Linked DNA regions of Homo sapiens: all the other regions are linked to region 2. The links are contacts of gene promoters, found by promoter capture Hi-C in blood cells and fetal thymus (Javierre and others, 2016). All regions are on one chromosome and are shown on one strand. Each heading gives the region's core, a stretch centred on a gene start or on the middle of the fragment in contact. The rest is flanking DNA. Distances are from core to core; before and after follow the strand shown.

Region 1 (3,385 bases), core at 168-2,667, 100 kb after region 2:
AGGATCACTTAAACCCAGGAGTTTGAGGCTGGAGTCAGCTATAATCATGCCACTACACTCCAGCCTGCGTGACGGAGCAAGACCTTGTCCCTAAATTTTTTTTTAAATTAAAAAAAAAAAGACGATCCTGCTGGGTGATGGTGGCTTTTTTTCTGTACAGCTAGAACTAGAGTAAAGGGGAGGAGTTTCCCCCAAAGGATACTTTTGCCCATTTGCAAAGGAAATGAATGAATGAAGATGCTGAGGCTCTCCCAGCTGATGGAACCACTATTCTGATTGATTGGCTTCAAAGACTCACCAGAGAAAAACATTTTAAAATGTAGGGCCAAACCTCTGATACTATAAAAGTGCTGGCCTTTTAAGACAAACTCTCAAAGTTAGAGTTTCCCCACGGTGAGAATCTCTCCACACAGTTGGGGACTGGGCAGCTACCCCAGCTGGGCACTAGAGGCCTGGGCCACCCTCACACCCTGGTCAGTGGTAGCACGGGGGCTGCCAGACCTCATCAAAAGCTTGACTTTTCTTTGACTTCCAGGAGGAGGAACCCTGTGAGGCACTGCTCCACTCCCTGCATGGTTGAGGACAGGTGGGAGAGGGGAGGCTACAATCAGGCTTCAAGGTTATTAGGATGGGCCGGGCGCGGTGGCTCACGCCTGTTATCCCAGCACTTTGGGAGGCCAAGGTGCGCGGATCACTTGAGGTCGGGAGTTCGAGACCAGCCCGGCCAACATGGTGAAACTGCTTCTCTACTAAAAATACAAACATTAGCCGGGCGTGGTGGTGAGCACCTGTAATCCCAGCTACTCGGGAGGCTGAGGAGGCTGAGGCAAGACAATCGCTTGAACCTGGGAGGCGGAGCTTGCAGTGAGCTGAGATCATGCCACTGCACTCCAACCTGGGCAACAGAGAGAGACTCCGTCTCCAAAAAAAAAAAAAGAAAAAGAAAAAAGGAGAAACGGTTATTAGGATGGTCCTGGGATGGAGAGAACCAGGGACAGTAAGGGCCTGGCCAGGGTAGGGCAGCTGCTGCAGGAACAGCAACCCAGCAACTGGCCACACAGAGGGCGAGTGACCCCTGGGCGGACTGATGGGCCACACCACAGGCCACACCACGGACCACAGGCCACACCCAGAGAGCTAGTCCTGGGGCAGGGAGCGCCTCTGAGCAGGAAATGACAGAGGAAGTTTCTGGTGCAGCTTTACTGATAAGGAAACAAACAAAGACTGTGTGATAGCAATCAGAAAACATTTCAGTCAAGCAGAGTGGAAGGAAGACTGCTTTATCTTTCTGTTCCCTCTAGTGAGAATTATGTCACAATATCATTGTCAGATGAAGATGCGATCTAACACTATGCAGCCAAAATGTGGGGAAAAAAGATAACACAGGTAGCTTCAGTACAAAATATAATAGGAACAAAAACATTGTACTTTGCTGCCTTTTGTTGTATTTGTCAGCTTTTTAAAATTTGTAATTTGTTGTGATTTCTTATCTTTTTCTAAATGAATGGACACATTTGCAAGTGATTTAGTATTCTTAAAGAGGAACCCTAAATTATATAAATTTTGGTCTCTATACAATGTGGGTTTTCCTTCCTATATACATGGTAACCTGTTTAGAAATTTTAATTAAATTAAATAAGTTGAAGTTGTGGGGAACAAATCATCATGTTATCTCTTTTCTGTGCACAAAAGTCGTTTTTAAATACTGGAATGGGGCGGGGTGTGGTGCCTCATGCCTGTAACCCCAGCACTTTGGGAAGCTGAGGCAGGTGGATCATCTGAGGTTGGGAGTTTGAGACTAGCCTGGCCAACATGGCAAAACTGGGTCTCTACCAAAGATACAAAAATTATCCGGGCATGGTGGGGTGCACCTGTAGTCCCAGCTACTCAGGAGGCTGAGGCAAGAGAATCGCTTGAACCCGGGAGGCGGAGGTTGCAGTGAGCCGAGATTGCACCAGTGCACCCAAGCCTGGGCAACAGAGAAAGACTCTGTCTCAAAATAAATAAATAAATAAATAAATATTGCAATGGGAAAAGAGAAAAATAAATCATAGAATTTTGGGATATTACACTTTAACAAGTTAAATCAAAACATTTATAAATAGCCATATAAAACCAACCATATAAAACCAGGCTATTAGTAAAAATCTAAATGGTCGTCCTGCTTCCTAAATGTACTCTTTCTCTCAAAAAGTTTTTGGATGAGAGAACATGGAAAACTGGGGATTTTTCCTCCACTGTTACAATGTCCTGCTTGCTCAGTCACAGGATAAGAAACAAGGAAACGCATATTGCTATCAGGCCCAAATTGAACAGTCATGAAGAAGCTTCAGGAATCTCTACTGTGTTAAATACACTTACTAATATTGAAAGGGCTTTATCAACACAGAAGATAGAGAGAGAGGCAGAACAGCATGGCCAAATAGAAGCCTCCAGTGATCATCCCCACTGCGGGAACACCAAATTGAACAACTAGCCACACAAAAAAGCACTTTCCTAATATCCAAAAATCAGGTGAGCGATCACAGGACCTGGTTGAACTTCACATCACTGAAAGAGGCCGTGACAAGGGTAGGAAGGACAGTCTTGAATCACTCCCCGCCCCGCGCCCCAGCCTCAGCCCCGGCACCCCCCACCCCCAGCCCCCGCTCCGCAGCAGCCTCGTGGTGCAGAGAGAGAAGCTGTACACTTGGGGGAGGGAGGGCACGGTGACTGTGGGGCTTTGCGTCGGAACTCAGCGCTGCTGCCGTGTCCCAGCAGAAAGCAACACGGGGCAGAAGTTAGCGGGCGCCCACGAAGGGAGGATTTACATCAGCCCTAGCCGGAGAGGAATCGCCCATCTTCAGCGGATGGAGCCTGAGCTCCAGCAAAGCCTCACCACTGCGGCCTAAAGTATTCAGGGGCCTGAAATATACTTGAAAGGCAGTCTAGGCAACAAGGACGGCAAGTCCCGGGCAAGTCCTGCTGCTGGACTGGGCTCGGAGCCAGCGGACTTGGGGTACAAGCGACTTAGTGAGATAGCAGCCGGGGTAGCTCGGGCCATGCTTACACCTCCCCTCCCCCAAGGCCAGGCAGTGCCGCTCACAGCTCCAGGAGCCCCTCCTTCCTCTTGCTTGAGGAGAGGACACGGAAAAGTGGGGAGGACATTGTCTTGTGTCTTGGATACCAGCTCAACCACAGTAAGATGGGGCACTGGTCAGAGTCGTGAGGCCCCCATTCCAGGCCCTAGCTCCCAGACGACATTTCTAGACACCCTCGGCCGGAAGGGAAGAGAAGGACCCAGTCCTAGCGGGACTCATCACCTGCTGACTGAAGGGCTCTTGGGCACTGAGGAACCAGCAGCCATACCCAGGCCGTACTTGCTGCAGGCCTCGGCTGACACTCA
Region 2 (3,334 bases), core at 1-2,500:
CGCACCCAAAGCCACCCTCCCCGATCTTGAGCTCCTCCGAGAAGTTGTGGGTGCCCCGGGAAATCTCACAGAGGGGCCAGCAAAACGGAAAGGGGCGGGCTCCCTGCAGGAGGGACACTGAGCTCTCTGGGCCTGGCTGTGGGAAGAGAGCCTGGATCAGGTGGGGTCCCTGTCTCTTCCCTTCTGCCCAAGGCTCCAGGCTCTCCCCACCACAGCTGCCTCCCAGCTGACCCAGCTTGGCTGACTGGGGCTCTGCGCTACATCAAAGGCTGAATTCCTTCCTCCTTGTCTCGAATCTTCCCTGGGGGGCAGGGGACACCTACCTTGGTAGAAGAAGGGGCTGGAGATGGCGGTGGAGGCCACAGGGAAGCAGGGCTTGGGACCAGGCCGAGCTCAGGCCCTGAATGGGTCTGGGAGCCTGGAAAAGCTTCATAAAGACACCAGTGAGAGGCAGGCAGAGACCAGCAGCAGGGTCTACAGCCGTGGCCGTGGTCAAGGTGGGCTCTTCTTTGGGTCCACCGAGCCTAACAACCGGGCCCTCTTACCTGGGGAGAGGAAGGTGGAGGCTGAGGATGGCAACTTCCGGGGGCTCCAGGCCTCGGCCTCGGCGGGTGCAGGGATGCTGCTGGGCCTCGGGGCAGTGGTGCCTGGGGACGGAAGCGGGGCGGGAGGGTGCCCTGGGACGCCAAGGAAGGAAAGGAAGGTTGAGGCCCGGGTGGGGGAGCCCCGTGGGGCCCGCCGGCCTCCCAGCCGTGGGGTGCCCGGAGTCCCGCGCTCACAGGCTGTGATGATGTCCCGCGCACGGAGCAGCTGCAGGTGCGTGAGGATGTGCACGAGGTCGGCCACACGGGCGTTGCGGTTGATCCAGGGCCACAGGACGCTGGCCGTGCGCTGCCCGGAGCGCTCGCACAGCCGCAGCTCGGTCTGGTCGCGCACGATCAGGGCGGCTGCGGGGCGGGGGGCGTCAGGCGTCGGCGCCAGGAGCCCGCGCGCCTCCCGCCCCCCGGCAGCCCGCCGCCACCCACCGAACTGGCACCAGTCGGCGGGCTCCAGGGCGTCCATCACTTTGTAGAAGCGGCACATGACCCAGGGCGGCACCTCGTACAAGAAGTGCTGGGCGCCGGGGGCTGCGGGCTCCCCCGGGCCCGGCCCCCCGGCCATGGCTGCCGCCGCCGGGCCGGGACCTGCCGGGGCCTCTCAGGGCCGCGGCGGGCGCGGGCCTGGGCCGGCCGGGTCCGCGGACACTGACTCACTTCCCCTTCGAGCCGGCCTCGTGCGACGCCCGGCGGGGCGGAAGGGGCGGTGCCCGGGCCCGCCGCCATCTTGCGCGCCGCGGCCGCGCGCTGGGTCACACGGGGGCGCCCCGCGCCGGGGAGGGCCCGGGTCCCGGCGGGTTCCGCGAGCGGCGATCGGCCTCCCGGGCTCGCCCGGGCGGGGCTCTGGAGGACGAACGGCGGCTCCCGGCGTTGGGGACAGAGGGCAGGGCGGAGGCCCGGGCTGCTCGGAAAGGGGCCGGGGCCGGGCCTTCCGAAAGCTCCTGGGCGGCCCTGCCGGAACCCTGCTCTCCACTGCGGCCTGCAGGGCTGTTACCAGGAGCCCTGCCTGCCCGCCCCACGTCTAGCCCCCTGCACACGGCAGCAGCCTTGAGCCATTCAGTCTCCTTAGGTGTCCTGAAATATGCCGAGAACGCTGCCCGCCACAGCCGTGAGTGTATGCGTTGCTGCTGCCCCAGCCCTCATTTGGCAAGGGTGAGCTCAGGCAGCTGTGGTGAAGGCTTCCTGAGCCCGCCGGCAGAGCTCCTGCCACCCCGTACCTGTCCCCTCCTGGGCATCGTCCTTGATTACTTGTCTGGACCGCCACCCCCGGTCCCCGCCCTGAGATGGGGAAGACCCCACAAGCAGCAACGCAGACTTACTCTTTTGTTTCTCCAGCTGGATGTCTCCTCCAGCGACAGTTCCCCTTGCCCTCTTGATCCTGACAGCGAAGGGGTTCCCCACCCCTAGCCCTACAGACTTAGGACTTTTCCTAGAAACGAGAAGTGCCCAAGGCCCACAGCTGGCCCCTGTTGGAGTCTCTTTCCTGAAGCCACCACCACTGTGGCCACTCCCAAGGAAGATGCCAACCATACCATGAAACCCATGGCTTCTCACGGGACAGACTTTACTGAGATGTACCAACTCAAGTATCTGAAATGACTGCACACCCATGCTAACCTCCACGGGGGCACTTGGTCCTACTTACACACAAAGGCCCATCAGCTCACGGAACAGGGCTGGCATACGAGATGCTCAATGCATACAAGTTGACTTTTCAACCCTGGGATCTACCTTTGAAGGCCAGGCCTTCCGAGGGTACCTTCTAGCATGTGCATGTGAAGCTGGACTCCTTTGAGCAGTTGTCTCCTCCAGCCCCTTACCAACCTGGTGAGGCTGCTCCTGAGAGCCAAGGAAGCCAGTAACAAGGGGGCCCCCTTTGGGCAAACCCCTCAGCCTGCCCTTGCCTGGTCAGAGAACCACGTTAGCAGTCAACAGAGGGCACGTGAGGGTCCTGGCCAGAATGAGACACAGGAGGAGCCACAGCCTGCGGGGGTGGGGGTGTCCAAAAGCACCACAGCACATCCAGACCTAGGGGGTGCCCCTACCATACGGGTCTGGAGCAGGGAGGTTGTGCTGCAGGCTGACTCATGCCAGGCCCTTCCCGTCACACGCTGGAGCAGTGTGCCTGGAGAGCACTGGCTTGGAAGAAGCTGAGGGGCCAGCGAGGCCAGCATATGGAGGAGGCTTCCCTTGGCCGCTCGTGGCAGGCCTGAAGGCAGCTACCTGTGTCCAGGGACAGCCAGATCCAATGAGGAAACGCAGCACCATGCTGTCATGTGAGCTGGAGGGGGACTTCTGTCTTATAATGAAAGCCCAGACCTTGAGTCACTTTCACAGAGAGATTTATCGAGAATGCTAACAGCACAGGATACAGTACTTCCCAACAAAAGGTGCAAACGCGTCACTTAGAAAGGCATGCTGAGTATTCTTTGCTTTCACATGTATTAAAAAACTTACAAAAATAAAATAAAACTGCGTGCTGCCCATCTTTTCCAATAGTAAAAGAACCTTATGAAAAAATCACTTGATTTTTACAACAAAAGACACAAACGGACATTTTTATGTAAATTTATAAGGCAAACTCTTTATATAATAAATAGGTTACAGGGATTCAGTGGGGGGGGGGTGTTTTTGAAACGTATACAGGTACATTCAGACAGGTTTACTGAAATGGTACAAATTTCCTTAATAAATTGCCTTTTGTTTTTAAATATATCAGTGCTTTCAGTCATTTGGCT
Region 3 (3,492 bases), core at 580-3,079, 120 kb after region 2:
CCCAGCAGTGCGGTTGCTGGGTCCTATGGGAATTCTACGTTTAACTTTTGGAGGAGCTGCCAAACTGTTTTCCACAGTGGCTGCGCCATCACAATCCAATTTTAGGACATTTTTATCACCCATAAAGCACTCCCTGTACCCATTAAGAAGTCATCCTCCATTTCCCTCCCTCCCCTGTCCTGGCACCCATTCCTCTGCTTTGTGTGTCTCTGGATTGCCCTATCTAAGCATTTCACAGAGATGGAGCCATGCGCTCCGTGGTCTTTTGTGTCTGGCTTCGCTCACTGAGCATGCTGTTCTCCAGGTCCATCCACGTTGTAGCGTAGGTCAGCCCTTCATTCCCTGTTATGGCCAAATGATACTCCATTGTACAGACAGGCCACTTTTTACCCACTCATCTGCTTCTGGACTTTTGGGTTGCTTCTACCATGTGGCCTGTTGGGAACAGTGCTCTGTTTGTATTCATGTACGGGTTTTTGTGTGGACACACATTTTCAAGTCTCTTGGGTACACAGGTGTAGAAGTGCCAGAGTTGGGGAAAAAGCTCACCTTTCTAGGCTGTGAATGGGCCCTGGCAAGTCTGTGGCCAGGACTCGTCTTCTCTTCCACATGGGGCCCCTAGCTTGGCACCTAGCACGTGGCAGGCAGCGACAGATGTTAAAAGCCATTCTTGCTATGGGTAGCCAGGCTGGGGCTCCATGCAGCCCTGGCCTTCAGCTTGGCAGCCAGGGCCCCCTTGTGCCTGCAGCAGAAGCCATGCTGCCAGGAGTGTAAGTGTGAGCCAGGAATGCTGGAGAATCGTGGCTCTGAGAACAGGGACAAGAGGCCACAAGCTCACGCCTTGGCTTTCCTAAGCTTAAGGAATAAACCCAAAAGGAGGTACCTGGAAGGAGCTGGATTTGGGGACTGAGGAGCTGGGAGCTGATGGAAGCCGTGAAAGGGGATGTGCTCCTGGGGAGGCGCTGGGGCGGGTGGGCCGTGGAGGGGACAGGGCCCGTTGGTTGGAAACTGAGGCGAGGCTACGGAGTTGGGCACTAACAGGTCATCCGTGCCCCTGCGAAGCGTGGGGACACAGGGACAGCAGAGATGGCCTGTCTGGACACTCTGTCGACGGGGGGCCTGTGGTTGGTGAAGCCCAAGGCAAGGCTGTGAACTCAGGGCAAGGGAGACGTGAGCAGGCGCTGCCGTGGGCTGATGTGGGCACTGCATGTGCACCCTGGCGGCCAAAGGACCTACAGCTCATGGGGGGCAAGGGGGAGGAGGGAAGCCAACAGCAGGATGTGCGCAGTCAGTCTGCCCCCCCTACACTGGAGGAGGAGCCCCCCGGCACAAATCTCGCCCGTTTGGGCCCACGGACATGGCTGGCCTCGCAAGGAGGATCCGGTTCCAGGCCTCGGCCCTAAATAGTCTCCCTGGGCTTTCAAGAGAACCACATGAGAAAGGAGGATTCGGGCTCTGAGCAGTTTCACCACCCACCCCCCAGTCTGCAAATCCTGACCCGTGGGTCCACCTGCCCCAAAGGCGGACGCAGGACAGTAGAAGGGAACAGAGAACACATAAACACAGAGAGGGCCACAGCGGCTCCCACAGTCACCGCCACCTTCCTGGCGGGGATGGGTGGGGCGTCTGAGTTTGGTTCCCAGCAAATCCCTCTGAGCCGCCCTTGCGGGCTCGCCTCAGGAGCAGGGGAGCAAGAGGTGGGAGGAGGAGGTCTAAGTCCCAGGCCCAATTAAGAGATCAGGTAGTGTAGGGTTTGGGAGCTTTTAAGGTGAAGAGGCCCGGGCTGATCCCACAGGCCAGTATAAAGCGCCGTGACCCTCAGGTGATGCGCCAGGGCCGGCTGCCGTCGGGGACAGGGCTTTCCATAGCCATGGCCCAGCAGTGGAGCCTCCAAAGGCTCGCAGGCCGCCATCCGCAGGACAGCTATGAGGACAGCACCCAGTCCAGCATCTTCACCTACACCAACAGCAACTCCACCAGAGGTGAGCCAGCAGGCCCGTGGAGGCTGGGTGGCTGCACTGGGGGCCACCGGCCACCCACCTGCCCCGCCCAAGGGAATCTCTCTTCTGCACGTCCCCACCAGCAGAGAAGGCTTTCTCCCATAGCTTTTCTGATGACATGAATTGGGGGGTCCTCTCCAAATCTAGAAGGACACCATAATATCGAATATGCATTCTCAAGCCACACAGGCTTCCCAGCCCCTTTGAGAATCCGAGGCCGGGGAAGAGTTTATGTGCTCTTTCTTTGTGGCCCGTAGATGAGTGTGTTCACTGCTAGCGAATGACCTCTCATTCCACGGAGTCCCTCAGCTTCCTGGGGAAGAGCTGGGTCTGTCTTTACATTTGAAGCCGAAAGGAGGCAACATACTGACACACCCAAGGGAGGCGGGAGGGTGGGGAAGACAGCAGCAGAGGGCAAGAAACTTCTAGAACTTCAGGGTCGGCAAAGCCTGTAGCAGTCATTTTGTCAAACTCCATGATGGGGCCACTTGGCTTTTGGCTGCACACCTCTGGGGGAAGAGGCTGCATTGGCGCCCAGGGCCATCTTTCCATTCGGAGCCGTCCTGGGAGAGAGGGCTCAGGCCCAACAGAAAGCTGAAAGCTCTCATCAGGGCAGCCCGAGTCCTGCCATTGGGAGTTGCCCAATCCGAAAGTTTTGCACGCAGGCCCTCAAAGAAGCTGAGGACACCAGTGACCGCCCCACTCCTGGCCCTCTCCCCAGGTCCCTCCTCCAAACCAAATTCCTTTGGTGCCTTCAAGAACATCGTGCAGGCCGGGCACAGTGGCTCACGCCTGTAATCCCAGCACTTTGGGAGGCAGAGGCGGGCAGATGACGAGGTCAACAGATAGAGATCATCCTGGCCAACATACTGAAACCTCATGTCTACTAAAAATGCAAAAATTAGCTGGGCTTGGTGGCGCATGCCTGTAGTCCCAGCTACTCAGGAGGCTGAGGCAGGAGAATCGCTTGAACCCGGGAGGTGGAGGTTGCAGTGAGCCGAGATCACGCCACTATGCTCCAGCCTGGCCACAGAGTGAGACTCTTGTCTCAAAACAAAACAAAACAAAAAACAACAACATCGTGCAGGCTGTGGTTTCCAGAAGCCACGCCAGCTCCTTGATTGCCAATAAACATCCCGCTGTGGGGTGGCCAGGACCGAGTGCCAATTAGTGACAGAGTGCCCAGACCAAACCGGATGAGGATCTTGCAGTTGACCTCAACATGACTGTGCCCAGAATTTCCTTGGTGGCAATGTCAACAGTCTCTTCCTAGATGCCCCCAGACTTCATCAATGCATGATGCTTCAGTGCACTCTTTTCAAATGTCGGGGTGGGTTTTTTTTTTTTCCACAAAACTTCAAGCATCTACTAAAGTAGAGGGAGGAGTGTAATGAACTCCGGTACCCATCACTCAGCTTCCACGGTTTCATCTCATTTCATCTGTGACCCCTCCACTACCCTTTCTTCCTGATTCTTGGAAGCAAATCCAAGA

What was found. Contacts are between HindIII fragments. The CHiCAGO score rates a contact against its expected background, and 5 or more counts as called.
Region 1: a fragment that was not itself captured here is called in contact with the fragment with the promoter of IRAK1 in region 2 in 2 of 17 cell types (monocytes and M1 macrophages); the score reaches 6.1 in monocytes.
Region 3: a contact is called between the fragment with the promoter of OPN1LW here and the fragment with the promoter of IRAK1 in region 2, in 2 of 17 cell types (total B cells and monocytes). The highest score is 6.3, in total B cells.

The regions. Positions count from the first base shown.
Region 1 is chrX:154,122,837-154,126,221 of GRCh38, forward strand. No RefSeq gene overlaps it. Among named protein-coding and RNA genes, the nearest start is that of OPN1LW, 20 kb to the right of the region's middle. The HindIII fragment of the contact is 1,815 bases long and covers 511-2,325 here.
Region 2 is chrX:154,018,652-154,021,985 of GRCh38, forward strand. IRAK1 (interleukin 1 receptor associated kinase 1) reads right to left here and starts at 1,251. Exons shown (of 14, transcript NM_001569.4): 1 at 1,026-1,251; 2 at 780-947; 3 at 546-677; 4 at 324-427; 5 at 1-136. The coding sequence starts at 1,161. It overlaps MIR718 (microRNA 718), which reads right to left and starts at 1,338; the gene lies at 1,269-1,338. MECP2 (methyl-CpG binding protein 2) reads right to left here. Exons shown (of 3, transcript NM_001110792.2): 3 at 2,922-3,334. RefSeq lists silencers at 621-690, 701-800, 1,151-1,530 and enhancers at 1,216-2,185, 2,301-2,370. The HindIII fragment of the contact is 4,941 bases long and covers 426-3,334 here.
Region 3 is chrX:154,142,414-154,145,905 of GRCh38, forward strand. It overlaps OPN1LW (opsin 1, long wave sensitive), which reads left to right and starts at 1,830. Exons shown (of 6, transcript NM_020061.6): 1 at 1,830-1,982. The coding sequence starts at 1,871. RefSeq lists a promoter at 1,640-1,873 and cis regulatory regions at 1,640-1,700, 1,700-1,717, 1,717-1,734, 1,734-1,807. The HindIII fragment of the contact is 9,614 bases long and covers 854-3,492 here.